Regions from separate parts of the Homo sapiens genome. Here region 1 is linked to region 2. Evidence: promoter capture Hi-C in human tissues and cell types (Jung and others, 2019). All regions are on one chromosome and are shown on one strand. Each heading gives the region's core, a stretch centred on a gene start or on the middle of the fragment in contact. The rest is flanking DNA. Distances are from core to core; before and after follow the strand shown. Region 1 has its middle 1.9 kb from the start of LINC00933. Region 2 holds the start of ZNF592 (zinc finger protein 592).

What was found. The method cuts DNA at HindIII sites, captures the fragments that hold promoters and counts their contacts. A contact is called where the count stands out against the background at its distance.
Region 1: a contact is called between a fragment that was not itself captured here and the fragment with the promoter of ZNF592 in region 2, in 2 of the 25 tissues and cell types used here (adrenal gland and spleen).

The regions. Positions count from the first base shown.
Region 1 is chr15:84,566,930-84,570,642 of GRCh38, forward strand. It overlaps the pseudogene UBE2Q2P1. Among named protein-coding and RNA genes, the nearest start is that of LINC00933, 1.9 kb to the right of the region's middle. The HindIII fragment of the contact is 5,545 bases long and covers 1-3,713 here.
Region 2 is chr15:84,746,770-84,750,269 of GRCh38, forward strand. ZNF592 (zinc finger protein 592) reads left to right here and starts at 1,823. Exons shown (of 11, transcript NM_014630.3): 1 at 1,823-1,895. RefSeq lists enhancers at 975-1,274, 1,347-2,186, 2,715-2,794 and silencers at 1,345-1,764, 1,825-2,314. The HindIII fragment of the contact is 21,328 bases long and covers 1-3,500 here.

The sequences.
Region 1 (3,713 bases), core at 876-3,375, 180 kb before region 2:
ACCAGGAAACATGAAAGACTAGATGGTACAGTCATCCAACACAAAGCACACAATAACTGAAGGCACTGTAGAGGAGTAACTTATGACACAAATCTACAATATTGTTGAGTGAACATGCAGATTACAAAAAAAAATCTGATTTTTTAAGGGAGAGGGAACACATACAAGCAAAGGAGAAAAGAGATGAGCAGATGACTGAAAGATACAAAATTCTGATAGTGGTACATTCTGAGTGGTAGAATTATTGGTATTACTTTCTAGTTTTGCCTAAAAATTTTCTAAATTTCTTAAAATAAGAACTTTTTGTTACCCATATTATAAAATATCCATCACCCCAGGAAACTTAACCTTGAGCACAAACTCTACAACATGTTCAATGTTTGTTCAGTTTAATATTTAAGAGACAACCTATTTTGAAAGAAATCTAAAATGATGACCAATATTTAAACCTATGCATTAATATTTTTCAATCATATCCTTTACATTTTGTAATTTTGATAAGGTTAAGCTTTAGATCCATCTTGAAAAGATAAGTTTTCTATTTGTCTTTAAAATACGACCCACAATATGCCTGTTTTTAAACAGTGAATGATGCTCAAAAATCACAATATAAATTCAGGCAGTGTTCCCTACATGGAATGTTTAAGTACTTCTAACACTGCTCTTTTTCACCGGTTATGAAAACACAGAACAATTATCTAAGCATCTAATTATTCAGGTCCTTTGTTTCTCCTCCATTCTATTAGTTTTATAGTAATTTTAGGGCCTGTGAGGATGAAGTTCTCTGTGACAGCTACCACAAAGCTTACTATAAGCAGACAAATTTCAAACAAGTTTATCACCACTACCAACCCCACCATAAAACTGTCTCAATCAAGGGCAACACAATTCAAGGTTAGCCAAGACAACCTCTTTACCTGTCACTGCTTAAGAAAAGGATTTTTTGGTCTTAATTAGAAACAATATTCTGTATCTATTTTTCTCCATAAATCCACTGAGACCAATGTGTGGCTCTATCTCAAGCACCAGCAAGCAAAACTGCCTGCCGGTATGTTAGGTTTTTGTATCTTTCCAAATGTAGGGCACAGCTATCTTTTGATATAATTTTTTGAAAACTGATGCACATATTTTTCTTGCAAGTTCAGCCAGGCACGGTAGCTCATGCCTGTAATCCCAGCACTTTGGGAGGCCAAGGCAGGCAGATTATGAGGTCAGGAGTTCAAGACCAACCTGGCCAACATGGTGAAACCCGACTCTACTAAAATTACAAAAATTAGACAGGTGCAGTGGCAGATGCCTGTAATCCCAGCTACTAAGGAGGCTGAGGCAGGAGAATCGATTGAACGTGGGCGGCAGAGTTTCCAGTAAGCCGAGATTGTGCCACTGCACTCCAGCCTGGGTGATAGAGTGAGACTCCTTCTCAAAATTAAAAAAAGAAAAAAAGAATTTCAGATATACAGCAGTTGTAATTTTTCTGAAGGCTGGTTATGGGACACGTTACTTTCATACTTTGCTGTTCAATAAATGTGGGGTGGAGAATAAAGTAAATTGACAGAATTACCATATAAAATAAAATTCTAAGTCCTCTGACAACAAAAGAAACTTATAACACACACACACACACACACACACACACACACACACACACACACACAGAGTTTTCCCTGCTAATCATTTTACATCTAAACAACCAAGTAGCTAACCCAGAGCCCACAAAAGCAGAGTAAAAATTCTAACACTTGGTAAAATAAAAATGCACATATATCCCTGTCATCTAAAAAAAAATGCTTACGTATTCAAAGACAGCAATTACAGCTACTGAGAACATCATTGTTAGCAAACTGAGGCAGAGAAAACAAAGGTGCTGATGAGGATTTGAACCACCTAAGCTGCAGAAACCCACTGGATGGTTTCCTAGGTTCCAAGTTGGCATTATCTTTCAGAACGATCTTCTAGAAGAGATCACATAACACTGTTACAAAGGATCTGGAGAAAGGGACCCTGGCTTCATCACTCTGGCTCTCCAGTCATGCTTTACATTTTCACTTCTTACACTCTCTTTCATAGGAAGTCAATTTACAGGCCTCCATCAAGCCCTTAGAGACCTTTTTGTACTATCCATGACAAGTTCTTGATGTTATGTCTGCACTTCTGACAAATTCTTAGCAGTTAACTTACAAGGCAGTTAAGGTTTTTGTTCAAGCACAATATAGCTAGAATAGGGTCATACATTCAATAAAACAAATATTTACCAAGCATTTATTGAGTAGAAGATAAAAAGCACAAAGCATAATTATAAACTATTCTCCCCTGCCATCATAAAAAAAAAATTAAAAAGCCTTACAGAATACAGCATAACATGACCAAAGCAAAAATAGTGAGGACTAAAGAGGGGAGGAAGGGGAAATATCAGCATGAACTGAATATGACCCAGAAGAGCCTTGATGGTCAGACATGTAAAGACAAATTGGGTAGGGTTAGGGGGTGGCTGTCAGGGGCACATTCTACAGGGGAAAAATAGATGATACAGAAGCCTGAAAGGAAAGCGGGCAGAGCACCTGGACAGGACTCTTACCTGCTGCATCCAGGGTACAATGTGCCTTTCCAGAACACAGCAGCGACCCGGGATAGAGGGATCGCTCAAACAGCACCAGAGGCTGCATTCCAACTTTTCCTCCATCAACAAGCCCGTTTTCATTGTTAGTTTCTCCTTAAACACGATTGGCTGAACATGCGGGAACAAGGAAAACCTGACTGAAGAACGAGGCATTTAAGCTTAAGGGCCTTGGATCTGGGCGCGGTGGCTCAGGCCTGTAATCCCAGAACTCTGGGAGGCAGAGATGGGTCATTTGAGGTCAGGAGTTCGAGACCAGCCTGGCCAACATGGTGAAACCCTGTCTCTACTAAACAACACAAAAGTTAGCCAGGCGTGGTGTCAGGAGCCTGTAATCCTAGCTACTCGGGAGGCTGAGGCAGGAGAATCGCTTGAACCCATGGACTGTCAAGAGACGGAGGCTGCAGTAAGCCGAGATCACCCCACTGCACTCCAGCCTGGGCGACAGAGTGAGACTCCATCTCAACAAGTGCCTGCCACCATGCCCGGCTAATTTTTGTATTTTTAGTAGAGACAGGGTTTTACCATGTTGGCCGGGCTAGTCTAGAACTCCTGACCTCAGGCGATCCAGCTGCGTCAGCCTCCCAAAGTACTGGGATTACAGGAACGAGCACTGCGCCCGGCCAAAACCCCGAAAATCTTGAAGGCCTTTCCCCTTCCCCGCCCGGGCTCAAACAACAGCCGGAGACGCCCTGCCACGCCCCGTCGCGGTCCCGGGGAGCAGGCTGGCTGACTGAGGGCGACCATGGGCCCCGAAAGGGCTGCGGGCGACGCGGGCTCCCACCTCGGGGCGCGGTGACTGGGGCGAGAGGTGCCGGCAGCCCCCAAGCCAGCCCCGCAGCAAGGAGCCAGAGAGACGCGCCCTCCCCCTCCTCCCACCCAAGCCTCCCGCAGTCCCGGCGATCGGGGCCAGGCCAGTCGCGGGAGAAAGGTGCGCGCTCACCCGGCCCGGGGAACCGGGGCCTCTCCTGGGCAGGTTCCCCTTTGTCCCGGGACTCCGGGCTCTTCCTCTCCGCCCTCGCCCTGCCGTGTGAAGCCGCCGCTGGGCGCCTCACCGTGATGTTGCAGTGGAGCCTGAGCTGCCGCGGCGGCTCCTGGT
Region 2 (3,500 bases), core at 573-3,072:
ATGTAATCCCAGCACTTTCGGAGGCCGAGGCGGGTGGATGACCTGAGTTCAGGAGTTTGAGACCAGCCTGACCAACATGTTGAAACCCCATTTCCACTAAAAATACAAAATTAGTCAGGCATGGTGGCGCATGCCTGTAATCCCAGCTACTCGGGAGGCTGAGGCAGGAGAATCGGTTGAACCCAGGAGGCAGAGGTTGCAGTGAGCCGAGATTGTGCCATTGCACTGCAGCCTGGGCAACAAGAGCGAAACTCTCTCTCAAAAAAAAAAAAAAAAAAAAAAAAAAAAAAAGCCAGGCATGGTGGCGTGCGCCTGTAATTCCAGCTACTTTGAAGGCTGAGGCTGGATTATCACTGGAACTCTGGAGGTAGAGGTTGCAGTGAGCCGAGACCACGCAATTGCACTACAGCCTGGGCTGCGAGACCGAAACTCCGTCTCCAAAGACAAAAAAAAAAAACAAAAAACAATCAACTTTTCCCTTTACTCTTTTGCAGAGAGGGAGGGTCTCGCTATGTTGCCCAGGCTGAACTCAAACTTCTCGGCTTAAGGGATGCTTTTGCCTCAGCTTCCACAGTAGGACCCAACTTTCTCCTTTACTCTTGGTACTTCTTGAGCTCCAGGCCTACTTTTCTCTCTCTCACTGCCAAACATTTGAAATCATCACCCTTTATTAACTCCATTGCTTCATTGGCTAACATACTCTTTAGACAAGCTCTTCAACTCAGTTCTGTGCCTGGTGCACAGCAGGCTCCGGCTGCATGTTAGTTCCAGCCATCTTGCACATTTGCATCTCCTTCCTGGAGAAGGAATTTCTCCATGGTTAGCAGTGTGTGCTCACTCCTAGTCACCAGGGCCTCATCTCCGTGTTCCCACACCCTGACCTTGCTGCCGCCCTAATGCTGCGGACCCAGTTTCCAGGTACGCCGGGTTCTTGGAAGGTCCTGCCGGTCACCCTCCCAGCCTTCTGCCAGACTCACTGAGTTCTCACCCTGCACAGTCATCGTTTCCCCAGTAACCCTGAGAGATCTCCCAGTCTACCTCTTCGAGGCACCCGTTGCCAGTCCTCCATCTCTGTTTGCCGCGCGTCCCTCGGTTACCCCAGAGGCAACACGTCAGGCTGCCCCGCACCTCCAAGCCTGCGCGAATGTCCTTGTAGCCAGCTATGACCAAACATTTAGGGCGCACCTGAGCGCCAGGCCCACGCCACCCCTGCTTGCTTTCACTTAACAGCCTCGACTAGGCCCCCTATGCGCCAGGTCTCAGTGAAGAGGACGCAGTCCCGGGTCCTGGGCGCTCTTTGCCGGGCGAGACAGCTGCGTAGGCAGATCCTGTTCCTCTAGTGGGCGGCCTCGGCCCCTGCCCCTGCCCCGAGGCGCGTCAGAGGACAAGAGGCCCAGGTCGCTGGCAGCGGCTGCCTGCCCGACCGCACAGGGTGCCTAGCACGGGTGGCGGGGACTGGAGCCGGGCGGGGGCCGGCCGGGGTCGGGGGTCCAGCCCTGAGCGGCGCCGTCCCCGCCCCGCCCCGTCCCGTCGCGTCCCGCCCCGCCCTACCCGCCGCCGCCGTCGTCGCCGTCGCCGGGCCTGCGCCGCGCAGCCCGCCTCGGGCGGGAGGCGGGAGGCGGGAGGCCGGGCCCAGGCCGGGGCAGCCCCTCCACCGCACCGTCCTGGGCCGGTGCCCAGGTCCGAGTCGCCTTCCGCCTGCCCCCCCCCCCCCCCAATCCCCCGCCGCGGCAGCCCCAGCCAGGTCCCGCCGCCAGGCCGGCTCCCGCCCCCGCTCCGCCCCCGGAGCCGCAGCCCCGCCCGCCATCGCCGTCGCCATGTTGTGGCTCCCGCAGCCGGCGCTGGGGACGCGCGCGGCCGAGACTCTGGCCTGCAGTCGCCGCCGCCGCCGCCAGGTAAGCGCCCCCCGCGGGCCGGGCCGAGCGGGGCCTGCGGGCCGGGGCAGCCCCAGCCTGGGCCCGGGAGGATCGCAGCCGGGACCGAGTCCGAGCCCGAGCCGGGGCCCGGCCCTGCAGCCTGGCGGACCCTGGCCGCCGCCAGAGGCGGCAGCCACTTCCCCCGACCGCCGCCTGGCGGGCCCGGGCCGCCACCCCACCCCGCCCCCGGCCGTCGGGCGCCGGCCCCTTCCGCCGCTGCGACCGCCGCTGCGACCGCCGCTCCTTGGCAGGCCGGGCACGCTGCTGTCCTCCGCGCTGGGCGGGACGTGCGGCCGCCCTCGGCGATAGCCGGCGGCCCCCAGCCCGGGCACGGATAACGGTGCCACTTTCTCCCTCTGGGACGGCCTGTCAGCCCGACCGTCCCCGCCGCCCGAAGAGCTGTCGCCGTCACAGGGCAGACACTTCGGGGAACGACCCTCTTTGGCGCTCCTCAGTACTCCCCTCCCCTGAGCCCAAGTTCTGACCCTGAGGAAGGTTTCTCCCGGAGCAGACAGGTATTCCTAGAGCTCCAGAGTTGGGGTCCTCAGGGGTGACCAGGCCTGTTGATCAGGGTGAAAATTGTCTCTCTGCAAGGGCTCTTCCTGCCAACGAGGGGGTTGGCGGGAGGCTCAGTGTGACCTGAGGGAGGACAGGAGAGCGTCTGCTGGACAGATGGCCTCCTGGCCTTGGATCAGCGTTTGTGAGGGGGAGGGGTCCGTATGACCTTAGGTATGCCTGCTCCTGAGTACTGCAGGATTATTGAAGCTGTTTAGGGATTTTAAACCATTTTTTGAGTAGGCCAAAGGTGGCATTAAAGGTCCTGGATTGGAATAAGTCCACAGGCCCACCCAGGGAAGCATGTTTGGCATCCAGGACTAGTCTAGAATAGGACTGGCAGTAGAAGAATGGGACTTGGGGAGTAAGACGGTATTTGGCTTATGGTTTGCCCACTTGAGTTCAGGCCTGTGCTCATGGAGGGCCTGTAGGGTGCTTCTGTCGCGGGTGCAGTGTGGTGCACAGTGTGGCAGAGTGCGGAGGATGTGGACAGACAGATTCCTGGCCTGGTGGATGCTTGGTGGTATTTTAGTAGTCTGTTTCCTCAACCTCACTGTTACGTTACACAGTGAAAGGGGCAGAAGTGTGGTGCTAGTGCGTCCATTTTGATCATTTTCCAATTTTTCAACTAGTTGTGGCTTTGATTCATTAAATAAATTTTTACTGAGCACTTACTCTGTGCCAGGCACTGAGCTAGGTGTTGGGAGTACATTGGTAAGCCAGAAAGATACCATGTTTTAGTTCTTAGCCATTGGGAAAGTCTAATAATTAATAGTCGTGGCCGGGCGCGGTGGCTCGCGCCTGTAATCCCAGCACTTTGGGAGGCCGAGGCGGGTGGATCGCCTGAGATCAGGAGTTCGAGACCAGCCTGACCAACATGGTGAAACCCCGTCTCCACTAAAAAAATACAAAATTAGCCGGGTGTGGTGGTGCATGCCTGTAATCCCAGCTACTTGGGAGGCTGAGGCACGATAATTGCTTGAACCCGGGAGGCGGAGGTTGCAGTGACCTGAGATCGTGCCGTTGCAC